Regions from separate parts of the Homo sapiens genome. Here all the other regions are linked to region 1. Evidence: promoter capture Hi-C in human tissues and cell types (Jung and others, 2019). All regions are on one chromosome and are shown on one strand. The core of a region is centred on a gene start or on the middle of the fragment in contact, and the rest is flanking DNA. Distances in the headings are between cores, read along the strand shown.

Region 1 (2,971 bases), core at 309-2,808:
CGGCGCGCCCTTGGGGTCAAATATCACTTCCAAAGTCGCTGTGGCTACGGAGGCGGCAGACGGAGGGAGGCTGGGGTGGCACGGGGCGGCCTTCTTCGCATGAGGGGCCCAGCGGTGGGGGTGGGGGTGGGAGCTGGGCTTGCCCATCTCAGGGAACCCCTCTGGGCTCACTCTGGGCCTTGGGTCACCGGAAATCGCCACTGGAAGGCCGGCAGGGCCACCGGAATTGACTGAAACGTCCCTCTCCCCCAGGGGTGGGTGCAGACCTGGGGCTCCTGGAAAAATCCCTCAAACTTTGGGTGTCTCTGAGACGGGCAGGGAGTGAAACGTTTCCGAGCAGGAGCCTTGGGCTGTCCCAGGTCGGAGACCTCTCTGGCAGGGCGTGGCCTTGCTAGCTGTTCTGGCGGAAGGTCCCCAGGGAAAGCGATCGGGGTTGTCCAGCCCGGGAGTTCTTTTCTCACCGTTCCCGGGCGAGCATCCGATCTGTCCGTTTATAAGCCCCTACTCTGCACCCCAGGAACATGCAGGGTCTCTGTGGAGCCCGTCTAGACGGTCTCAGTTCCCAGCTGCCCAAAACAGAGGCCCAAAGGCCCAGAGAGAGGTCCTGGTGCCTGCTTTGCGTTGGACATGGAGGGACGCTGCCCGAGTTGGGGGCACTGTGGGGGAACTGTGGGGCTAGGGTGGGGACCGCTGAGTTCGGATCGGAGTGGCCCCAGGGAGAACGGCTGATGGAAGGCTTGTTGGCTGAGGCCACCAAATAGGGCCCCAGGTACCCGAGGGTGGAGTTTGGCCCCAGGTCCCGGGTCAGGGCTGGCCTGGTGTGGCCATGTGTGGCAGAGCTGCCTTGCTCCCTCCTCCAGCACAAAGTGGGCCACTAGACTTTGGCCTCATTCTTGCTGCTGGAAAACCGCCTGCTCTCTGGTCATATCTTTAGGGAGGGTAAGGGAGGGGGGCTCAGGCAGTTTTGGGGTCCCAGGAGCTTCCTGAGGGTGGTGTCAGGGAGCAGCAATTTTGGGTGGGGGGGGCCTTGCTTGGAGCTGACAGGTTTGTGCTGTGTCAGTTGTGTGACCTGGTGAAATCACCATTCCATTCTGAGCTTCAAATGGATTGAGCAGGGTCTCGCTGGGGCCCAGCCTGGGTAGTTTGATGCCAGCCCCTCCAGAGAGACCCCAGCTCCAAGTCTAGCTCCTGAGAAGCCCCCAGTCTGGAGGAGACACAGTGAGACAGATGCCCCAAGTCTGTGGGATCTGGGGTCCCAGGGAGAGAGCAGAGGCTCTGCCTGGAGGTCAGAGAGGGCTGCCTGGAGGAGGCTAGGGGACATGAGCCTTGAAGCATGGAGTTGGCAGGTGGAAGAAAGGCCACAGGGACATGCCAGAATGTGGTCCAGACAAAACACTTAGTGGCAGACTGGGGGAGCTGTGCTGTAAGAGGGGGACTGTGCAGCCATGGGAGAAGTCAGAGCTAGGTGGGCCTGAAATGCTGGCTGAGGGTAATGGGGAGCCATAGAGGGTGTGTGAGCAGGAGAGGGCTCTGATCAAATTGGACTGGAGGCCAGAAGCCCAGGGAGGAAGCTGAGTTGGGCCATGGGGTTGGGCAAAAAAGCTTGCACTCTTTAGGTGGGATAACAGGAAGAACTTAACTGTTTCCCTCCTTGGAGGGATGGATCTGTCCCAATTCCACAGCTGGGGAAGTTGAGACTGAAGGTTCAGGGCCTCCCCTGAGGTCAGGGGCCCCTGAGCTGGGCCTCTGCCTGCCTGCAGGGCCGCCCCAGGCCAGGCCGTTTCCACCCGGCTGCCCTGGACCCTCCCACCACCCAGCCGCTGGGCTTTGTTCTGGTTCTGCCTGAGCTCCCTCTGCCCTAGTGGGGCCTCTTCCCAGGGGCTCAGTGGCTGGTGCTGCAGGACCCAGGCAGTGGTGGAGGGGGGGTACGGGGGAGTGGGCGCAGATCCTCAGCTTTCCTAAGTTGGGTTCTCCGGCTGGGCTCTGGGTCTTGGCACTGTCCCCCGTGAACCCCTCTGACCCAGTCCATCCCATATGATAGGGCAATATCTGACCTCCCATTTTCAGATGAGGAAACCGAGGCTCAGTGGGGCAGTCGCCACCTGAGGGGCAGGGCTGGGTATCTGCAGCTGAGATTCATCTGTTTTGTTTTGTTTTGTTTTGTTTTTGAGACGGAGTTTCACTCTTGTTGCCCAGGCTGGAGTGCGATGGCGTGATCTCAACTCACTGCAACCTCTGCCTCCCGGGTTCAAGCGGTTCTCCTGCCTCAGCCTCCCAAATAGCTGGGATTACAGGCATGCGCCACCATGCCCGGCTAATTTTGTATTTTTAGTAGAGACAGGTTTTCTCTATGTTGTTCAGGCTGGTCTCAAACTCCCAACCTCAGGTGATCCGCCCGCCTCGGCCTCCCAAAGTGCTGGGATTACAGGCATGAGCCACTGCACCCAGCCTTTTTTTTTTTCTTTTTTTTTGAGACAGAGTCTCACTCTGTCACCCTGGCTGGAATGCAGTGGGTCAATCTTGGCTCACTGCAACCTCCACCTCCCCAGTTCAAGCGATTCTCCTTCCTCAGCCTGCCAAGTAGCTGGGATTACAGGCATGCGCCACCACGCCCAGCTCATTTTTGTATTTTTAGTAGAGACGGGGTTTCACCATGTTGGCCAGGCTGGTCTTGAACTGACCTCAGGTGATCCACCCTCCCCCGCCTCCCAAAGTGCTGGGATTACAGGCGTGAGCCACTGCAGAGATGCATCTGTTTAATTCCCTTAAGTGGTGGTTCTACTCTGTGACTGTCTCTGTGTGTCCCCTGGGTGTCCAGCTGGAACCCCAGGGGTAGTTGCTCCAGGCCCAGGCCTTGGAGAGCCCCCAGCTCCTGGTGGCAAGAGACCAGGGGAGTCCAAGGGCAGGGGCCAAGGGGAGAAGGTTCTGGGGACATTTGAAGAATAAGGCCTGGACCTTCCTGCTTGGGGGC
Region 2 (2,971 bases), core at 332-2,831, 690 kb before region 1:
CAGGCTGGCCTTGAACTCCTGGGCTCAAGTGATCCTCCCGCCTCGGCCTTCCAAAGTGCTGGGATTACAGGCCTGAGCCACTGCGCCTGGCCCTTCGTTCCTTTTTATGGCTGAATATTCCTCCACTGCATGGATACGCCACATTTTGTTTATCCATTGTCCACAGCTAGACATTTGGGCTGTTTCCACGTTGGGGCTTTTTTTTGTTTTGAGACGGAGTTTTGCTCTTTCACCCAGGCTGGAATGCAGTGGCACAATCTCGGCTCACTGCAACCTCCACCCACCCGGTTCAAGCAATTCTCCTGTTTCAGCCTCCCAAGCAGCTAGGATTACAGGCACCTGCCACCACGCCCGGCTAATTTTTGTATTTTTATAGAGATGGGGTTTCACCATGTTGGCATGTGCCACCATGCCTATCTGATTTTTGTATTTTTAGTAGAGACGGGGTTTCACTATGTTGGCCAGGCTGGTCTCAAACTCTTGACCTCAAGTGATCCGCTTGCCTCGGCCTCTCAAAGTGCCTGGATTACAGGTGTGAGCCACAGTGCCTGGCAATTTCTGCTGTTTAAGCCACCCAGTCTGTGGTATTAGTTATGACAGCCCAAGCTGGAAATACAGACACTTTTCTCTGTGTAGTAAACACTCACTCACTTGCACACGTCATTCAATAAATATGTACTGGGCACCTAATACGTGTGCGATGCTGGGGAAAGAGGTGGCACAAATGAGCTTTCTGCCTGCATGGGACTCCCAGAGAAGAGCCAACACATGCAATCAGAGTCCTAATAAGGACACGCAGGGCGCCGGGGAAGCCCGGAGAGGGCTTCTGACCCAGCCTGGGTCAAAGGGCTTCCTAAAGGAGACATCTAAGGAAAAGTCTGAATGAGTGGGGGAGAGCGCAGCCTGCACGCGGGATGCAGGAGGTAGGCTGGAAAAGGGGGCGATTTGTATTCCAGGGAGATGGGAAGGTGTGGAGGGCGTTAGAGCCGGGAAGCCCAATCTATGGGTCACACAAGCCCTCTGGGGTTAGTGAGGAGGTGGACTCCCCAGATGGCAGGAGCTGGGAGCCCAGGCGGTACCCAGGGAGTGGCTCAGGCTGGGCGAGGGGCACACTTAGAAGCGAATCAAGACCCATGGGGATTAAGACCCCACGGATGTGAAGGTAAAATAACAGAATACAAAATTCAACAATGCCTCCTCTAAGCAGCCCTCCCGGCTATCCCTTTTGAAGTCCCCCACCACTAATCCCCCTACAAGAGGCCGGGGGAGTCCGCGCCCAACTCTGTCCCTCTCGAGACCAGAAGCTGCCTAGGGGCAGTCCGGGGCCAGGTGGCCTCGAACATGCTGTCGCGTCGGGCTTCAATCGTCTAGTCTGGAAATGGGCATCGCCCCCAACTAGGTGCGGTTCAGACTGGACGCCAGAAGTGCTCCTGCCTCCCAGCACCCCTCCTCCAGCCTTCCCAGGGGATGGTCCCAGGCCAAGCAGCCCCCGCCCCGCGCCTCTGCTCCCCGAACCCGGGTTCCGCCCGCGCCGCAGACGCTCCTACCTTCTTACCCCAGCGCCGGCCCGGTCGCGCCTCCGTGACGTCATCATGGGGCCTGCGCGCTGAGCTCCTGGCGGCGCGCACTCATTGCGCCTCAGTACCGCCGCCATTTTGGTAAAGAAAAAGATGGCTGGGCCTCGGACCCAAGCCAGGGTAGTCAGCCACTTCTTTGTCTCTTCAAAAAGAGGACACTTAATACGCCCTCATTCCCTACGCTCATTTAATATGTTGATGAACCAGGAGGGGCGGGCAGAGGCGAAAATCTAGAACATTGCCTTTACCAAGATGGCCGATGCCCGGATGAAAGATGGCAGCTGCGACTACACACGTGGTCCGGCGGCTTCAGCCTGGAGCGGCCCGGCCGCCAGAGCGCGCCCGCGGTCCATGAGGGGAGGTGGACCCAGTATAGCCCTGAGGAAGCCTCTCCGTAGCTCTTCGCAATCCCTTAACGCTTTAAAAGTGCTTTCCTAGTCCTGAGTCTCTGCGTCCCACTGGTGACGCTGGGGCGGGGCTAGGAGAGGGGAGATAAATGGGGCAGAGAAATTAACACACACCGCGCAGTCCAGGTAGGGAAACCGAGGCTCAGAGAGACCAGGAATTGAGTTTGGCCAAAATGTAACCGCGAGTAGGCTCATAACCGCGAGTAGGCTCAAATTCCGTCTCTTGCTCCTGCCAGTGCCTCTTCCTGGATTGCTGACCTGCTCCCCACTTCTGCAATATTATTTATTAATTTTATTTAGAAATTAGGTTTGAGGCGCCAATTTGTCTTAGGCACTATACTTTAGATTTTCTGCATTTACTACTTCTCGGTGTTCTCAACAGTAAAAATGGCAGTATTAGGGGTCTAAGGTTACACTGGTCCTGACTGTGGAGAGGGAAAAGCAAATGCTTTGGGGGCAGTTCAGGTAGGAGTAGTTGACCACAGAGTCCATTCCCTAAAAGGCATCCCCCCAGCGACCTTGCTGGGACCTAAATCCCAGTGCGCGATGCACCTCCCCTGCTCTAACGCCTCCCCTGGGTTCCCATTGTCCCGCAAGACTCCTCCCACCTCCCACCCCATCTCCCTTGGCTTCCCTCACCCTCCCATTAGCTCTCTGCTCAGGTCGCACCAGCCCCCTTCTTACAAATTGCCAGGCGCAGTCTTGCCTCAGGGAGTTCCCCCAGGAATTTCCCAGGTTTTTCCGTGGCCAGTTCCTTCCCTTCAGGCATGAGACAGAAAGGTCTCTGGGTGCAGGGGGCTTAAAGTCGGAAAATCACATGAAAGATTATTATCCTGGCTGGTCGCAGTGGCACATGCCTGTGATCCCAACCCTTTGGAAGGCTAAGGTGGGAGGATCGCTTGAGGCCAGGTGTTTGAAAGCAGCCTGGGCAACATTATGAGACCCCATCTCGACAGAAGATAAAAACATTAGCTGGGCGTGGTGGCA
Region 3 (2,971 bases), core at 171-2,670, 610 kb after region 1:
TGCACCGCATTCTGGGAGGGGCGAGGTTGGGAGCAGTAAATGACAAGTGTTTTGCCCGTGTTTCTTTTCTCCTCCAAGTGTGATGTAAAACTTTTCACATGTGCAGAAGCACGCAACCATAGCCACGTGCAGAAGCAGCCGTTTTTGCAAATGAAAATATTTCCCAGAAGCACAACAAATACAAGACTAACAGGTGTCGGGCAGCTCCAAGGCACACATGTGGTTCTCATCAGCTGTCTTCCTCCTGTTTTAAATCTAGGTCTTCCTGTAACAGTGGGAAAAAAAAGATTTCTCCCGAGGCCGCCGAGCTTGCCTTTCCATCCCGTCTCACAAGAGCATTTCCAACAGAGCTCCCAGAGAGAGGGGAGCAATTACCAAGGCAATAAACAGGGTGGAGGGAGGAGGGGCGCCCTTAAACTTGACATCTGCGGTTCTGGGCTTAACCCCGAAGTCTAGGTGACCTTGGGCCTCCGTTTCCTCCTCTGTGACGTGTTTGGTTAAGAGAATGAGCATCTCAGTTTTACAGAATCTCAAGGCAGAGGCGGGTAGAAGGGTCTTTCAATCACGGGGTTCTCTGCCGGTGGGGGGGCGGGGGGACTGTGCCCCCACAAGGGACGGCGGCAATGACTGCAGATTGGGGGAGGGGGCGCTTCGGAGGCCAGAGATGCCGCTCAACTTCCGACAGATCGGGGGACCCGCCCCGAAGACAGAGCGATCCCGCCCAAATGCCAGTGGTGCCGAGGTGGAGAAGCCGCCGCGTAGACGCAGATTTGCAACCTCCGGCTTTCCCAGCTACGGCGGGCGGCTTCTGCCAGAGGCGCTTTGCCGCCTCACGTTTTCGCGATCGGGGTCGCGCGTGGCGGTGCAGACCCCCGCCCTGCCACCACACCCATTCCCACACCCTCTGAGGGGCGGGGGGGCCGCGGCGACACCCCCGGACTCCGATGACCCTTCTGCGCGCAGAATCACAACGTGGACGTCTGGTTCCCTCGCCCTCACAAAAAACTCGGCAGCTGCTCAGCCTGCGACTCCCGTCCCCCAGTCACGCGCCGGGAAGGCTCTCCCAGAGGAAGGATTTTCCCGCCGCCCTCCCCGCCCCGAGGTAGCCGCTGCGAGCGTCCGGGTTCAAGGACTCTTTGCGCGCGCGCTTCCGTCAGAAAGCCCCGCCCCGTGACCTGGACGGGGGCCGTTGCCCCGCCCAACCTCCTCCCAACGGCTGCCTAGGCCGGGCGGCTGGGCGGGGCGTCACGGGCGGACGAGTGCGCCTGCGCGCGCTTGCGCGGAGGCGCGGGGCGTGGCACACGGGCAGCCCCGCCCAGGCCTGGCGTCTCCGCCCGCCCCATCTCCCAACCTCCTCAGCGTGGCGCCGACGCTGCGTGCGGCGCGGACTACCCAGAGTACTCCGCGCGGGGGCAGCTCACTGGAGTTTGGTTCTCGAGGCGGCGGCAGCGAGCGGCGGCGGCTCCGGCGGCTCCTCCTCCTCCTTTGGTGGCGGCGGCGGCCCGGGACCGAGACCCGGCCCCGGCTCCCCTCTCCGCCACCCCGCGCGCCCCCAACCCCCCGGCGCCGCGGGGAACATGCGGCTCCGGCTCCCGGAGGCCGGCGAGTGAGTGACCCCCGTCCCCCGCCTCAGCCCGCCCGCCCGCTGGCCCGGCCGCAACCCCCCGCCTCGCCCAGGCAATGACAGCGGCTCCGGCGTCTCCGCAGCAGATCAGGGACCGGCTGCTGCAGGCCATCGACCCCCAGAGCAACGTAAGTACCCGCCGCGCGAGCTGGGACGGAGGCCGCATGGGCCCGGGACCCTCCCCCTCTCCTGTACCCCTCGCCCACCGGGCTTCGGGGGACCCGTCTGGCGCCCACCTCCCCTCGAGGGCCGCTGCCATCCCTGCCTCTCGCTTCTCGGGCCCGGGCCGGGGGCAGGTCGGGCAGCCCGGCAGCGCTCGGTACGTGAGGCCGAGGCTTCCGTGCGGCCTGGGCGGAGGAAGCAGACGGGGGAGCTGAGGCTAGAGTTTTTCCTCCCTTTCTGCTCCAGCTCTACGACCCTCACTGCTCTGGACGAAGCTTCTCTGCCTCGCCCTCCCTCCGGGACCCGAGACCCCCGGGAAGCCCTCCCGGAGCGGGAAGGGGAGGGAGAAGGGCTGTGAAGCAACTGGTGTCCGGGGTATGACTCGGGGAACCTATGTCTCCCATGTCTTGGCCTCCTGGGTGATCAGGGAAGTCCTTCTTCCCCCTCCTCTCGGCTGGCAGCACCTTCCTGGCTTCGGAGAGAACCCCCAGTCTGTTTTGCCCCTGGCCGGGTACCTAGGGTACGTGGAGAGTCTGTCTCCCTTCTGTGACTAGACACGCCTTTGCCAAAACCCTCTTGGGGTCGCTGCCGACGATAGATGATCTCGGGGAGGGTGGGATCCTTCCTGTTGCCTTTCTGGGCCTCAGTACCCATTGCGTCTCTGACCAAGCCAGAGCTCCATTTTTTAGGTAGTGAATTAAAGAGGACTTTTCTCTCCCGTTTACCCAAGAGCTCTGTTTCAGTAGGCTCTTTCCCTCACCTGGGGGTCTCAGCCTGGTGGTTTTTGACCCAGACTGTCGGGGTTAACTCCAGAGTGTCGCTTCCTCGGGTGCCCCTTTGCTGAGGCTACTGTTTGCGGAGGGACCGCCCCCTCCCCTTCCGTGTGTGTGTGTGTGTTGTTGCGGGGGTGGGGGGGTGGGGGGGAAGACTGATCTATTCTCATATTTTCTCCAAGAGTTTCTTGGCAGTAGGGGTCATTCTTCCCGCGGCAGGAGCAGGGCGGTAGGAAGATGCAGTAGCATCCAGGTATGAGGGGAGGCCCTGCTTCCCAGGAAGTGGCCATTGAGATCACTTTTTAATGTGCTGTGAATGGAAGAAAAATATCATCTTTGGCTTGGCCAGGTAACTCAGGTTTCTCTCACCGTAGGGGTTTTTGCTTTCATTTTTACATGAGCTTGGCTGATT
Region 4 (2,971 bases), core at 1-2,500, 580 kb after region 1:
CCGGCCCGCGCCACCCGCTGCCGGTCCCCTCCAGCCCCCCGCCCCGGCTCACCTGGCTCATACTTGAGGTAGAGGATGGAGACGATGAAGTAACTGAGGTCGAAGACGGGGAAGAGCGGCACCCGCGAGAAGCTGAGCGCCAGTTCGCCCAGGCTCAGCGCCGAGAGCAGCTCCATGGCGCCCGCCTGCCCGCCTGCCGGGTGCCACCCGGGGCCCCGGCCTCGTCCGTCCCGCCGCCCGCGGCCCGGCGACTGCGCCCCCGCAGCTGGGCCCGCCCCCGCCCGCCAGGCGCCACCCCAGGCCCGGCCCCCGCGGGAGAGGAGGGGCGACGGCCCACCCCGGGACAGGTGGTGGGGACGCCCAGCACCACGGACGCAGCTGGACGGTCGGGCGTCCCAGGCGTTGACCCTCCTGCCATCGCTACCCCGTTCCGCCCAGCGAGGCGGGGTGCGGGGCACCCGTGCAAGGCGAGGGAGGCTGGGGAGCTGCCTGTTCTGGGGGCCCGTCCCTCACGGAGCCCACCCACGCGGGACGCCCGTTCCCAGGGGGCCGGATCGGCCAGGACTTTGTCCCCGTGGGCTCAATTAGGACCCCGATCTTCGGTGGAGCCCAGTGAGGACCCCTACGCCATGGTGGGACCCCATGAATCAGAACCCCTGTTCCCCGTGGAGATAGGTTAGGACCTCGGTCCTCTGTGGAGCCCCGTCAAGACTTTTCTGCCCCATAGGGTCCGTTCGATCAGGAACCCCGTCTCCGGTGGGGCTCTGCAAATCAGGACGTCTTGTGGGGGGCAGCTCAGTGGGAACCCCCGTTCCCCATGGGGCCCAGGAGGATCTCATTTTAGAGCCCAGTTGGTTGGGGCACCCGTTTCTAGGGACCCCACTGCGTCAGGACCCCGCACCCTGTGCAGCTCAGGAGTCAAAGGATTCCTTTTGTCCAGAAGCCCAATTTGGGACCCCAGAAAGTGAGTAGGAATTGCTGCCCAGCTAACCCTACGGCATCGAGACCTCACGCATGCGCGGCACGCTTCGAACGCGTGACCCAATCCCGCCCCCAGGAGACCCCGCTCCTCCCATTCTGGCTCTCGGGGCCTCCCCAGCGAGGTGGGGCGCTCGCGCTCCCCTAAGGGGGTCTGGCCTGCAGAGGGCGGGACCCTCCCAGCCTTGACCTTCGATTGGCCCAGCCCTCGCCACTGTTGCTTTAGGATTGGTCGGCTTGTGCTCCTCTCCCCTCCCTCCCTGGGGCTTCCGCTTCCGGTTCTGACGGACGCTTCGGCCGTAACGATGATCGGAGACATCCTGCTGTTCGGGTAATTAGGGGGACCAGAGGCTGGGAAGAGAGAGCCAGGCAGGACGCGGGGGCGCCCCTAGTAACTGTAATTCTCCCTCTGCAGGACGTTGCTGATGAATGCCGGGGCGGTGCTGAACTTTAAGCTGTGAGTAGGTCGCGGCCGGACTGCGGCTCCATCCGGGGAACCCGTAGCCCCGCCCTCATAAGCGTGATCTCGGCGCACTTCTCAGGCCCCGCCCCCAAGCCGCAGGCCCCGCCCTATCCGCCCTCTGGGCACGCCTCCAGCCTGGTTTATCTTCCTCGCCCCCCACCCCCCGAGAGACCTTAAACCCATACTCTCCGTTCCTTGGTTGTCCCTCTGTTCACCTTCCTGGAGAGCTTAAGCCCCATCCCCCAAGAAATAGCCCCACCGCGGACCTTCCGCCCTGCACCCGCACTGTCGGGCCACTTTGTAAACGGTCGGTGGCTGCTGACCTGGCTGTGATTGTCCGGGCAGTGGGGGCCCAGAGAAGGGTATTGAACGTCAGAGGTCACACAGCAAGTTTGCGGCAGGGCCAGGGCTGAAACTTAGTGTTTGTGGCCTTCTGAGCTGGGGGTCAGGGGGCTGAGGACTCTATGTCCCATTGAAAGTGGACACTGTCTGCTCCTCTTTGTAGGAAAAAGAAGGACACGCAGGGCTTTGGGGAGGAGTCCAGGGAGCCCAGCACAGGTAAGGTCTAATTGGATCCTGGAATTGCATGGTCCACTTCAGAGGACAGTTCTGTTTCGCCAAGCCCTACCTTCGTTTTCTTTCTTTCTCTTTTTTTTTTTTTTTTTTTTTTGACACAAGGTCTTGCTCTGTTGTCCAGGTTGGAGTGCAGTGGTGCGATCATGGCTCACTGCAGACTCGACCTCCTGAGCTAAAGTGATCCTTCCACCTCAGCCCCCTTAGTAGCTGGGATTACAGGTGTGTGCCACCATGCCAGGCTAAATTTTGTATTTTTTGTAGAGATGGGGTTTCTCCACGTTGCCCAGGCCGGTCTCGAACTCCTGGGTTCAAGTGATCCCTGCCTTGGCCTCCCGAAGAGCTGGGATTACAGGCGTGAGCCACAAGTTTTCTCTTTAATTGAGCGTGTGTGTGAGTGGGAGATGACTGAGAATGTGCTAGCCTTTCTGCCTACCTCTGTCATCTATTTCTTTCTCCTACCAGACCTCCCTGATGTGAGCACTCACATCACTTCCTACCGTTATAATGTTCTGTTATGTTTGCTGTCATCTGGCTAATGTCTGCCCCTCACATATGACTGTAAACTTCAGAGAAGAGGCCCTAGCTTGGCTTGTCCCATCCTTTGTTCTTGCCGTACCCGTCCTCCGATGCCTGTGAATGAATGAATGAACAACCTCACACATAGCTGTTGCTTTCAGAGTGCTGCAGACCTGCCACTTTTAAAATTAGATGCCAACATTAGATTTTTAATCAGGAGATTTTATATAAAAATTAAGATGTCTGATTTTTCTTGAAAAATTGGAACATTCTGCAACTCAAGATTCAGGAGAGCTGTTTGCATCTATTGAGTGTAGTTGAGAAGGACTCTGAGGAGGTGGGGCCTGTAGACTCTGCCTCATCCCAGCCCTAACCCCTTCATATGTCTATCATCTGCCTGGGCCCTGGAGGCCCCAGAATTTACACTTCCTGCTGAAT

The links. The method cuts DNA at HindIII sites, captures the fragments that hold promoters and counts their contacts. A contact is called where the count stands out against the background at its distance.
Region 2: the fragment with the promoter of CCDC124 here is called in contact with a fragment that was not itself captured in region 1 in 1 of the 25 tissues and cell types used here (spleen).
Region 3: the fragment with the promoter of MED26 here is called in contact with a fragment that was not itself captured in region 1 in 1 of the 25 tissues and cell types used here (dorsolateral prefrontal cortex).
Region 4: a contact is called between the fragment with the promoter of SMIM7 here and a fragment that was not itself captured in region 1, in 1 of the 25 tissues and cell types used here (dorsolateral prefrontal cortex).

Annotation. Positions count from the first base shown.
Region 1 is chr19:17,241,516-17,244,486 of GRCh38, reverse strand. The region is part of intron 1 of NR2F6 (nuclear receptor subfamily 2 group F member 6); the gene reads left to right. Among named protein-coding and RNA genes, the nearest start is that of NR2F6, 2.9 kb to the left of the region's middle. The HindIII fragment of the contact is 5,712 bases long and covers 1-2,971 here.
Region 2 is chr19:17,931,625-17,934,595 of GRCh38, reverse strand. It overlaps CCDC124 (coiled-coil domain containing 124), which reads right to left and starts at 1,581. Exons shown (of 5, transcript NM_001136203.2): 1 at 1,548-1,581. RefSeq lists a silencer at 1,419-1,468 and enhancers at 1,549-1,738, 1,759-1,818, 1,965-2,503. The HindIII fragment of the contact is 29,527 bases long and covers 1-2,971 here.
Region 3 is chr19:16,626,653-16,629,623 of GRCh38, reverse strand. It overlaps MED26 (mediator complex subunit 26), which reads left to right and starts at 1,420. Exons shown (of 3, transcript NM_004831.5): 1 at 1,420-1,752. The coding sequence starts at 1,681. It overlaps LOC105372296 (a long non-coding RNA gene), which reads right to left and starts at 1,192. Exons shown (of 2, transcript XR_936361.3): 1 at 376-1,192; 2 at 1-265. RefSeq lists enhancers at 207-256, 361-1,292 and silencers at 807-886, 1,137-1,396, 1,497-1,556. The HindIII fragment of the contact is 10,464 bases long and covers 1-2,971 here.
Region 4 is chr19:16,658,423-16,661,393 of GRCh38, reverse strand. SMIM7 (small integral membrane protein 7) reads left to right here and starts at 1,250. Exons shown (of 5, transcript NM_024104.4): 1 at 1,250-1,309; 2 at 1,394-1,435; 3 at 1,947-1,999. The coding sequence starts at 1,284. It overlaps TMEM38A (transmembrane protein 38A), which reads right to left and starts at 255. Exons shown (of 6, transcript NM_024074.4): 1 at 53-255. The coding sequence starts at 176. RefSeq lists silencers at 188-437, 458-657. The HindIII fragment of the contact is 23,986 bases long and covers 1-2,971 here.